Linked DNA regions of Homo sapiens: regions 2 and 3 are each linked to region 1. Evidence: promoter capture Hi-C in 16 types of primary human blood cells and fetal thymus (Javierre and others, 2016). All regions are on one chromosome and are shown on one strand. Each heading gives the region's core, a stretch centred on a gene start or on the middle of the fragment in contact. The rest is flanking DNA. Distances are from core to core; before and after follow the strand shown.

Region 1 (4,009 bases), core at 356-2,855:
AGGAGTCAATGATTTTATTAAACTGACCTGTTTAGTGAGATGGTGGCAAATTCTTTCAAGGTAGATTATCTGTAGGGAGAAGGAAGTATGGGCGTTCAAGGCAAGAGATAGAAAGTGGAAGTCATTAACTTACAGGGGATTTTTCTTTTTTTTTTTTTTTTTTTGAGATGGAGTCTTGCTCTGTCACCCAGGCGTGATCTCTGCTTACTGCAACCTCCACCTCTCGGGTTCAAGCAATTCTCCTGCCTCAGCCTCCCAAGTAGCTGGGACTATGGGCATGTGCCACCAAGCATAGCTAATTTTGACTTACAGGGGATCTTTAAAGCTGTGTTAGCAGGTACCTCTAAAAGACTGCAGAGAGAACAGAGAAACTAACACAGATTTGTGGACCACTGCTTCCATGGTTTATCAGAGTAATGAGTGGATTATGGGTAAATAAAATGGGAAATCAGCAAACAGGAATCAAAAAGCAGGGGCAAACCGTCAGTCATCAATCACATGCAATGAAAAGATCCCTTGTCAATACTGAACTCTGACTTTTTGCATTATTTTCTTCCTTCCCTCCCCTTCTAAATGGGCTTAGCTTTACCAGGTAGTCTCCTAGCTTTGTAGAATTTTTCCTATAAAATGCTTGCCAAAAGAAAGAGAAACACTTGCCTACCTTTTCATGTCTGCCCTTAAACATGTGAGTGGCACTCCAAGTGGTATTTTCCTCCGTCTCTGCTCTATTTTAGCTGACTGTTTCCTGCTGCCTGAAATTAGCCTGCCCCTAACTGTATAGATTACTTAGGTATGGCTTGCCTAGAGTAATAGATCCTAGTATTAAAAACTTTTGAATAATTCCTATCCACTAAAGTTATTTGATTTTAATTGAACTGAGCAGAATAAACTGACCTCTTCCAAATATTAATAAGTCAGATTGAATGAATCTTTCTGGGTTTTATTCTGCCTCTTAGCATCAAAGCAGAATTTTCCAACTTGAAAATCTTAAAAAGAGACCCTCAGTTATAGTCCGCTTTTAATGCCTGCTTAACTCATTCTGAAATAAATAAGTGGTAAAAGGAACAGGACTACCATCATCTGCTTAGGTTAATCATTGGTAGTGGAAAAAAATTGCTGAGTCAGCCACAGTGATGCTGTGCTGGTTAAAGTCTCACAGATCCTCACAGTTAATGACCATGATTGGTGAAGCAGTTCTCCAATATCACCTTTATTGTCTGTATGAAATCCTTCATATTTTGTAAGAGATGTAATTTCACTCTGTGTTCACATGGTATTGTCAACCACCAACAGTCAATGAGAGACAGATAACATAAGATGGACAGAGGTGGAACAGAGACGATAGAAACAGAAACCAGGGCCACGTTGTGGGAGAAAGTACAGCATGGGTTAGTTCCATAAGTGGTCAGTTCAATCGTGAATATTTTTACTTTATGATCACTCGTTCTTCTCGGTGTAATCTTGTAACTTCTGGGACTCACACAATTCATTTTTTAATGAAAATGTACTTACATTGTCTTATATATTGTAGTATTTGCATTTTTGAGTATATACTTCTTGATTCTGTAGTTAATTTCATCAAACATATCTTTCTGATATGACCCCTGTTTAAAAAAAAAAAAAAGTGAACCTTTTGAAACTCAAGCCTGATCAAGCTACTTCTTGCTTAAAATACTTCAGTGGTTTTCCACTGGTTTTTAGGAGAAACACCAAAATCCCTAATAGGGCCTACAAGCCAAGCAGTGTGTGGCCACTGCCTGCCTTGGAACATACTCTACCTTGTCCTTTATATTCCAGAATTTGTAAAATGGCTGAGTAACAAGTTTAATCACATTATTACATGATGTTCTCTCTTGTTCTCCCAAATTTTCATGTAAAAATTCCTTATACAGTTATAATGCACCCTAAACACAAGGTATTAGTTAAATTCTTATATATTCCATATTTTTATATAAGACTTTTAAAAAACTTTCTCAAAAAGAACTTTTCAATTAAAAATCATTTTCTCACACAGTAGATTAGTCCTTAGGCAGACTGTTCGTGTTGCTATTTAAAATGCCATCTTTTTCTTTGCCAATTTTGTTTTGTTTTGTCTCCCTCACCATCTTTTCACTTCTCGTTATCTCCTGCAGCACTCAAACTTGTTGCTAAAATTTGGTGAAAATGTTTGACAAACTCTATCGTGAATAACAAGTAGATCTTATTAAATTTGAATTCTGAAGTCTGATCTTGGGTGACCTCCTTTCTCTAAGCGTTCATTTTTCAATTATGCCAGACTGGGGCAGGGGAGAGGGTAAGAGGTAGTATTTATTTCCTATGATTACACAAGTAATTTATTCTTTGTAGAACATGTGCAAAGACTAAAAATACACAAAGAAGCAGAAAAATAGTCCATAATCTTAACACTCAGAGACAACCAATGATAATACCCTGGTGTATTGACTGCTCCCACTCTGGTGCCAGTCACCAGCACCTCACACTGAAACCAACCCAATAGTCCCATAGATCAGCAGTCCCCCAACCTTTTTGGCACTAGGGACTGGTTTTGTGGAAGACAATTTTTCCACAAACCATAGGGGGTGGGCAGGGGGAGTGCCGGCAGGTGATGGTTTCAGCATGATTCAAGCACATTACATTTATTGTGCACTTTATTATGCTGGGGAACTGTTGGCATAATTGTGTTTTGAAATGTGAGAAAGGTGAGATTTGGGAGGGACCAGGGGCAGAATGATATGGTCTGGATCTGTGTCCCCACTGAAATCCCATCTTGAATTGTAATCTGAATTGTAATCCCCACCTGTTGGGGAGGGAACTCATGGGAGGTGATTAGATTATGGGATGGTTCTCTCATGCTCTTCTAATGATAGCAAGTGAGTTCTCACAAGATCTGATGGTTTTATCAAGTGTTTTTCCACCTTTGTTTGGCACTTCTCTCTCGCCACCATGTGAAGAAGGACACATTTGCCTCCCCTTCTGCCATGATTGTAAGTTTCCTGAGCCCCTGTGGAATTATGAGTCAATTAAACCTTTTTCCTTTATAAATTACCCAGTCACAGGCAGTTCTTTATTGCAACATGAGAACAGACACAATTATGCCAACAGTTCACCAAAGTCTTAACTCATTTCAGCATTAACCCAAAAGTCTTAAGTTCACAGTCTCATTGAGACCAGGCAAGTCCCTTCTGCCTATGAGCCTAGTAGGATGTGGGTGGGGCCAGATAAAAGAAAAAAAGCAGGCTACCCGAGCCAGCAGTGGCAACCTGCTTGGGTCCACTTCCACACTGTGGAAGCTTTGTTCTTTTGCTCCTTGCAATAAATCTTGCTGCTGCTCACTCTTTGGGTCCACACTGCCTTTATGAGCTGTAACACTCGCCGCGAATGTCTGCAGCTTCACTCCTGAAGCCAGCGAGAGACCACGAACCCACCAGGAGGAATGAACAACTCCAGACACGCCGCCTTAAGAGCTGTAACACTCACCACGAAGGTCTGCAGCTTCACTCCTGAGCCAGCAAGACCACAAACCCACCAGAAGGAAGAAACTCCGAACACATTCGAACATCAGAAGGAACAAACTCTGGACATGCCACCTTTAAGAACTGTAACACTCACCGTGAGGGTCTGCGGCTTCATTCTTGAAGTCAGTGAGACCAAGAACCCACCAATTCCGGACACACTTTCATGGGCTGGCATTGTCTATGGCTTTTCCAGGCTCACCATGCAAGCTGTTGGTGGATCTACTGTTCTGGGGTCTGGAGGATGGGAGGATGAGGGCCCTCTTCTCATAGCTCCACTAGGCAGTACCCCAGTGGGGACTCTGTGTGGGGGCTGTGACCCCACATTTCCCTCCCACACTGCCCTAGCAGAAGTTCTCCATGAGGGCTCCTTCCCTGCGGCAAACTTCTGACTGGACATCCAGGCATTTCCATATATCCTCTGAAATTTAGGTGGAAGTTCCCAAACCTCAGTTCTTGATTTCTGTGCACTTTCAGGCCCAACACCTTGTGCAAAC
Region 2 (4,349 bases), core at 1,593-4,092, 550 kb before region 1:
ATTGCCTTGACACCTTAGTTGAAATTAATTGCCATATTTGTATGTGTCTATATCTCTTTTCTGTATTCTGGCCCATTGATCTGTATATCTTTGTTCATACCGATAACCAGTATCTTGATAGCTATAGCTTTAAAGTCTGAAATAAGATAGCGTAACTCCTCCAGATTTGTTCTCCTTTTTCAAAATTGTTTCAATTATTCTAAGTCTTTTGCATTTCCACATAAAATTAACATCAGCTTGTCACTTTCAACAAATAAGCTTGTTAGAATTTTGTGATTGCCAATTTTAATGAATAAGTTCATTGACCAATTTGAGGAGATGAATTTGAGGAGAGAATTTGGAGAGACATCTCAACAATATCATGTTTTCCAATCAACAAATATGGCATATACCACGCTTTATTAAGTCTTCTTTAAATTGCCTTAGTATTTATTTATAGTTTTAAGTGTAGAAGAATTGCATGTATTTGGTCAAGTTTATCCATAATTCATACTTTATGCTATTGTTAATACCCCAATTTAATTTTTAAGATACAAGTGTTAGCTCACTTATTAGTTCTAGTAGGTTTTTGTTAGACTTAAAATTTTCACCATAAACAGCCATGGCATCTATTCATAAAGAGATTTATTTTTCCCTTTCCAATTTGTATGTCTTTCCTTTCTTTTCCTTGCCTTTTGCTCTGGCTGCAACTATCAGGATAATGTCAAAAAGAGCTGGTGAGAACAGTTATTCTTGCCTTGCTCATGATCACTCAGTGTTCCACCCCCAAATATGATGTTAGTCGTTGTTTTTTTCTAGATTTTTTTTTTCAGAATATCTAAGTTGCCTTCAATTTTTGGTTTGCTGAGAATTTTTATATTATGAATAGGTGTTGATTTTTGAGGGGAAGCTTTCAGTGTTTCACCATTAACTATTGTGTTACTTGTATAAACACACACACACACACACCCCAAAAACCAAAAACCAAAAAATATATATAAAATTTGTTTAAATTGAGGAAATTTCCTTCTTCTTTTAGTTTGCTGAGAGTTTTTAACATAAATGGGTAATAAAATTTGTCAGATACTTTTCCTGCATCTATTATGGTTGATAAAAGAAAAACTTCAGCCAAATTAAATTTAAAAGAGTTTAATTGAGCAATGAATGATTCACGAATCGGCAGCCTCCTGAGTCAGAGTAGGCTCAGAGACGCTAGTGCAACCATGTGGCAGAAGAAGATTTTATGGAAAGAAAAAGGAAAGTGAGGTACAGAAACAGCTGGATTGGTTATAACTCAGAGTTTACCTTATTTGAAAATGGTTCAAAGAGTTGGCTACATTTGATTGGCCAAAACTCAGTCACTGGCACAACGGTAGGCTAGGGTCTGTTTACACCTCCACTTGTTATAATTCAAGATGTACAGTTAAGTCTTTAGGCCGAACTTAAAATATGTAAGGAGGCAGCTTTAAGTCAAACTTGATTTAACAGGGCTTTTCTCCTTTATTGTAATAAACAATGAGATACATGGATTGATTTTCAAATGTAAAATCAACCTTGCATTCTTGAGATAAAGCCGGTTGGTAAAGATGTGTTATCTTTTTAAATATTTTCCTTAATTTAATTTTCTGAAAGTAACAATTGTTGTGTCTGTGTTAACATGGGATACTGGTCAGCAATTTATTATTTTTTTGTAATATCTTTGACATTTTTGACATCAGGGTACTGCTTGCCTCATAAAAGGAGTTGGGAAGGTTTTCCTTCTCATCTATTTTCTGGAAGTTTGAGGAGAACTCCTAGTATCAATTTTCTACTTAAATATATTTCTTTAAATTCCCCAATGAAATCAACTGGACCTGAAATTTTCCTTGTGGGAAGATTTTTATCCATAAATTTAATTAGTTACTAGTATAGGACTATATTACTAACATTCCCTTATTATCCTTTTAATTCCTGTAGAATCAGTATTAATGTTCCCTCTTTCATTCCTGATATCTTTTTTGGTATGTTCAGACTGACTAGTTGTTTATCAGTTTTATTGACCCTCTCAAAGTAGCGTCTTTTGGTTTTATCCGATTTTCCCTTGTTTTTCTGTTTCCATTTTCAATTATTCCCATACTTATTTTTATTTTTTTCTATTTTATTGCATATTTTGGTTAAATTTCCTCCTTTTTTTCCTAAGGTGGAAAAATATATCACAGATTTTTTTTTGAGAACTTAAGGATGACATATTACAGATTTGAGACCTTGTTTATCTTCCTGATACAAGCATTTTATGCTATAAATTTCACTCTAAATCCTACTTTCTTGCTTCAGTCTATAAATTTTGATATGTTATTATGCTAGTTATTAATTGATTCTCATCTCACATCCATCTATTTTTGTCCTGATTTGGGAAACTAAAAACGAACCCTGTAAAAATTTCCCTTTAGACAGCTGCTTAATGTTAGCCTTAGTGGTTGCTGGGGGATCACTGCAAGACAAAGCAAAGGAAGAGGCTTCTTTCTGGTGTGATTTTTCTTTTTCTCCCATAGTAACCAGTGATGTGCAGGCGGCTCAACAGTACTCAGTCAGTGAGTTTCTCCAGCAGTTCAGAGGGCTGCTTCTGGTGGAAGAGCTCTAGGAAGACAGTGCTACATGAGGACCTCTTTGTTTTTTTTTTGAGACAGAGTCTGGCTCTGTTGCCCAGGCTGGAGTTCAATGGTTTGATCTCGGCTCACTGCAACCTCCACCTCGTGGGTTCAAGCGATTATCCTATCTCAGCCTCCCAGTAGATGGGATTACAGCCTCCAAGTAGCTGGGATTACAGGCACCCGCCACGAGGGCCTGTTTCTGCATAGTGGCCGTGGCCCTCCATTATTTCAGCAATGGATTGTTTCTTTGGACCACCTTTGACCAGCCTGTCACTTCATGGACACTCTGCAGGGAGTTTCCATAGAACAGCTCCAGCCTACCCGACCCTCTACTGAATTTTCCAGATACCCAGTGGATTCCTCTTATGAATGAGCTCTAGCTGCAACCTCTGGCAAGTTTGTTTGCCATAGGTAGATTGTAGTTGCTTGTAGTAGTCATACTCTCTCTAATAAAGTCTGTAACTTAGACAAGCAAGGGGAGGGGAATATCTTCCAACTTCTAAACTCCTTTCATCTGTATTCTTACTCACCAGAAATAATGGATGGTTTCTGCATTTATTACTCCTATATTCCACTAGTTACCTATATTATTAACCCTTTACTAGTTAATAGTTCTTCACCCTAAAATGTTCGTGTTGAACATATTGCTGTGGTTTCTATCTACTGATTGGAACTTGACTAACTTGTGTTTCTATTTACCTTTAGTTCAAAATATTTTCTAATTTCCCTTATGAGTCCTTTTTTGACCCAGAGGTCATTAAGAAGTATGTTGGGCTGGGCGTGGTGGCTCACACCTGCAGTCCCAGCAATTTGGGAGGCCGAGGTGGGTGGATCACCTGAGGTCAGGAGTTTGAGACCAGCCTGACTAACAGGGAGAAACTCCATCTGTACTAAAAAATACAAAATTAGCTGGGTGTGGTGGCACATACCTGTAATCCCAGCTACTCAGGAACCAGAGGCAGGGGAATCGCTTGAACCCGGGAGGCGGAGGTTGCAGTGAGCCGAGATCGCACCATTGCACTCTAGCCTGGGCAACAAGAGTGAAACTCGTCTCAAAAAAAAAAATGTTGCAAAAAAAAAAAGATGTTGCCTTATTTCCATATATTTTAGTATTTTCAGGATGAATTCACATTATTTAATTTTAGTTTAATTTTGTTGTGGCCAAAGGTGATACTTTATATGATTTATATTTTTTCTTTATTGTGGTAAAAAAAACACATAATATGACACCTACTCATTGTTGTACAACACATCTCTAGAGCTTTTTCATCTTGCGTGACTGAAACTCTAGATTCATTGCATAGCAAATCTCCATTTCCCCCTACCCTGAGTCACTGGCAGCTAACATTAAACTTTCCATTTCTATGAGTTTTTACTACTTTTGATACCTCATATAAGTAGAATCATGTGGTATTTGTCCTTCTATAACTAGCTAATTTCACTTAACATAACATCCTCAAAGTTCACCCATGTTATGGCATAGGATAATTTTTTTTTCTTTTTAAAGGCTGAAAAGTATCCCATTGCATGATTATGCCACATTTTCTTTATCCATTCATCCATCAAAGGATTTTAGTTGTTTTTACATCTAGGCTATTGTGACTAATGCCAAAATGAACATGAAAGTGAAAGTGCACATATTATTTCAAGACCCTGTTTTGAATTATTTAAATAAATACCTGGAAGTGGGATTGCTGGATCATATGATACTTCTACTTTCAATGATGAGAAACCTCCATA
Region 3 (4,081 bases), core at 1,408-3,907, 870 kb before region 1:
AAGCTTGCCACATGGGATACAGAGCAAGAATTAGATTTCATCTTAAGGGGAACTGGCTTCAACTTGATAAATCAGCTAATCAAAGGTCTTGGTTAAATTTTAGTTTCCTTATCAACTGAAAGCAAGGCTTTTCAGAGCACACCATCTGTGTAAACACAGCAGTTACAGGTGAGGGGAGACAGCTTCCTCTCTGGGCAAGAGTCTTTGTTTAATTTCTTTCCTTTTAATTATGGCTCAGTTAAAGGACATGTACATATAAAATTTTTCTACCTACATTTTATTTTAACAAAAATGAGACTTATAGCTTTAAAATGCAATATGAACATTAATAATTAGGTAGGTAAGTGTAGTCAGAGAGCATGCCAGGCAGGAGCAGCTGAATGAAGACCCCAAGGCAGGAAAGAATGTAAAATGTTATATTTGGACAGAGGAGCATGTGGGGGAGAAGGGGAAGAGAGACTGGAGAGATAAGCAGTGTCCAGATTATGCAGGATTTTGAGACCATAAAAAGAATATGGAAATTTATCATAACAGTCATCAAAGATTTAAAGCAGAGAAATGGTATGATCAGGTCTGCATTGTTAAAATAGTGGATTAGGGGATAGATACAGGAATATTTGTTAGAAAGTGATAGCACTGGTTTGTATGGCTTGGGTTAGGCTAGTGATGATGGTTAAAATAGATAGAGGGAATAAATTTGAAAGCAATATCAGAGGTGGAATTTATTGACTTGATGATTATGCGTCCCAAGAAGGAGGAAAATTCAAAAAGATGGTCGTGTTTGTAGGTTGTCATTTGCTTTGATTAGAAACACAAGAAAGGGGGCAGATTTGGGTTAAGTTCACTTCTGTTTCTATTGAGCTTGAAGCTCTTATGAGACATCTAAAAGGAAGAGTCTAAGAAAGAAGATCTGGGTACAATTTTTAATTTAACATTTATTAGTATATATCCTTGAGATGTCTTAAGATTGTACAAAGTCAGAAGAGAAGAGGCCTCAAGTTGATCCAAGGTTTAAAGGTCCAGTATAGGGGGAAATTAACAAAGGAGACTAAAAAGCAACAACCAGGAAAGAGAAGAGAGCCACTGGGAGAACTCTGGCTATATGGCCACACATTTCTAAATAATTCCTGGCAACTTAGGAGGAATCTCCAATTCCTCTTCAAATTTCAGGGAAATATATTGGTTATGATAAATCAGCCATCAGTCAGTCATACAGCTAGTTTTCTGACGGAATAGTGTTAGAATAATGGTTCACTTTCTCTTAATGCAGAACCCTCTCTTCTCTACAGTAATCCAAAGGCCATTGTTTACTGGTTCTACCCAAAGATTTGTCAGAATGTCAAGGAAAGGGTGTAACACTCTGGAAGAATAGAAATGTTAAATGGCAACTGGCAGAGGAGGTAGGCTTCCCATTTTACATTTGAGCTAGAGAAATACACCCAGAAAGCTCTGCCGTCTCCCCTCTGTTGCCCAGTGGTAATGTGAGATGACTGAATTTTTCACCTTTCCAGGCAAAGCTCCGGACATTGCATGCTTGGAGTCCCCCATCCACTAGAGGGCTCTCACCACACAGGTGATAGTTTGGAGGTCTCAGGGCCTACAACAATGTGTTTCAAAGGCTATCTGTGAAACTAGTGTAATTTTGTACAGTTCAGTCATACAATAGAGTTAGTGTTAGAAACACTGACTGAGAAAAAAAATAGATGAAGCAATTATATTTCTCTCTGCTTGGAAGTCTTTTCCCAACTGTATGTAATTTATACAGGTTGGCAACCTACAAAATTCTTTGTTAGCAAATTACAGCGTGCAATTACATCTTAACTCTGTTTATCTTTATTTCTTTACCCTCTTGTTCCTTCAAATAATTTCATCCTTTCCCCCTTCTTTTTAAAGCTTGCAAAGAGAAAAAAGAAATTAAACTAATGCAGAATATGGGAAGCTTTCCTCTTTATTGCCCTTCCCCTTGCCCTACTGGTCTACCCCAAACACTTTTTTCTACAAGCTTCTTAACAAATATAGACATAATATAAAATTATTTTTAGAGTCCAAAATGAGGACTCGTGCTATAACAGTGGAACACTGCTTTAAAAGTGACATATATTATCACATATATTGTGCTCAAATACCTCAAGGATAGGCCAACTATTTCTAAATGCATTAGATTTTGAACCCATCTGTTGCAAACTTTTGAACAATTTTTTGAGTGGCTTTGGGATTCAGACTAAGGTATTGGGCTGGAGGAACTGCAAGAAGCAGCCCTGGAGTTTAGCCTTCCACTCTATCTCAGAACTGAACCTATTGGAATCATGCCATGGTATTCCTGGGTATAGAAGTTCGATTCTGGCAGAGTTTTTTTCTTTGCCCAATGGAAGGTGTATTCTCCAGGCATAGAGTGCTTTCTTTTCAAAATGAGTTGATTCTGCCTTGTATCTAAAATGTTTAAAATCCCCAGCAGATCTCTGGAGGGCATATTTACAGCCAACTTATAGGTTTACTGACCTCCCCCACCACCACCTGCAGAACATTACTGGGAGAAAAAGCCCACCAATAGTCAAGTCATATAGTCTGGACGATCCAAGATCCGTAGAGTCTTATTTGGACCTGTTGTACAACCAAAAGTATGTGGGAGTAGAGAATTACTACGCAGTCTCTTTCCTCATTTGTTGGCAATGAAACAGAATCACAGTAATTATATCAGAATGCTCTGTAGTCTCTGGATGAGCTATATATATTTCTGTTTGATGAATTTCTCCTTATTTTATCAATGCCAGGTTATTTAGGAATGCTGCTTCTGTATATGTCATTTCCATACATATTTTATGACAATAAAACAGATCAAACAATACAAATAAATTCGACTGATTTGTGTTTATTAAACTCCTTACAACATGTGGTATTATACTATACTTGACAGCACTTTAAATATTCAGAAAATGTGTTTCATGTACTTTTTTTGATCAAAGATCATAATCAGACATCCGACCTAATTTGTGGATTTTATTCTATACATTTTAATTCAATCAATTGACATTACCTTTGATCTGAGATGATTCTACACTAAACAAGAATATATAAACAGAGGGATCAAATATCTTCACCTAAAAACCACTGCTGGAATGCCTCCCAAATGCTTCTTGATTGCCAACAGAGGTATCATTCAAATGTAGTTTGAGGGACATGATGGAGAAGAGCATTTGCTATAATTGAAACTGCAAGTGGTTATTCTTTGTTAATTACAGTGCAAATACAGAATTTTAAAAACTGGCAAGAGTATCACCTCTCAACAGTTTCCTTTACCCATTAGAAGCTTTGCCATTAGGATAATGGGTGTCTAAGGAAGATTTTTCTATTTTGCCCTATCTGTTTTACTGCTCTTCCTTTTCCCATAAATGAATCACAAGAATTTGGAATCACTGGTAAAGATGAAAATGGATGTTCGCATTTCTAACTTTGACCTCACTTCTTCACAGAGTTTTGTTCATTTTCAAGTGAAACTTGTCTTATAAGACATATGGGCTGTGAAGGAGAGGAAAACAGTAGGGAAGGAGAGGGGAAGGTTGGCTGGGAAGAGGAGGGGAGTGGTGAGATACCATCCCAAGAAGCCTTTTTACTTGAAGAAAATGCTATAGCCCTAACAGAAAATGAACTATATGTAAACAGAAATGACATCATAAATCACTTCTCTTTTCAGTAACGTCCAAAGCTGCAAGGTCTGTCTGCCTCTATCTATTCTAAATCAAGCTCACGTTGAATATTCCACTTGCTTTCTCTGCCAAAGAGAGAGAATCTCACGATAAATACACACTGATTTGGTCAGTGGAATATATGCTACTATGAAAGTTGAGACAGTTTGAGCAGTAATGAACTCTGGAGTTATGCCATTTATAGTTCTTTGTGTTTTTATTAAATATTATGCATGGGTTCTTGTATTTGTTTCAATATAATGTTATGGTGAACTACTGACTGAATGTATCTGTTTGCCATGTGGGTTATAGGCATCTGTTGAATATTAGGGAATGTAATTCAAGTGATTTGCCAAGAGCTCCATCAGAGATGTGGCCTGTGCATATTTCTGAGTTGA

Evidence for each region. The method cuts DNA at HindIII sites, captures the fragments that hold promoters and counts their contacts. A CHiCAGO score of 5 or more calls a contact.
Region 2: a fragment that was not itself captured here is called in contact with the fragment with the promoter of LINC02869 in region 1 in 1 of 17 cell types (endothelial precursors); the score reaches 5.5 in endothelial precursors.
Region 3: a fragment that was not itself captured here is called in contact with the fragment with the promoter of LINC02869 in region 1 in 1 of 17 cell types (naive B cells); the score reaches 6.4 in naive B cells.

Annotation. Positions count from the first base shown.
Region 1 is chr1:218,507,691-218,511,699 of GRCh38, reverse strand. It overlaps LINC02869 (long intergenic non-protein coding RNA 2869), which reads right to left and starts at 1,605. Exons shown (of 3, transcript NR_146760.1): 1 at 1,513-1,605. The HindIII fragment of the contact is 5,893 bases long and covers 1-3,292 here.
Region 2 is chr1:219,059,190-219,063,538 of GRCh38, reverse strand. No RefSeq gene overlaps it. Among named protein-coding and RNA genes, the nearest start is that of LYPLAL1-DT, 110 kb to the left of the region's middle. The HindIII fragment of the contact is 3,902 bases long and covers 892-4,349 here.
Region 3 is chr1:219,383,486-219,387,566 of GRCh38, reverse strand. It overlaps a transcript of LYPLAL1 not described here. Among named protein-coding and RNA genes, the nearest start is that of LYPLAL1-AS1, 170 kb to the left of the region's middle. The HindIII fragment of the contact is 1,305 bases long and covers 2,005-3,309 here.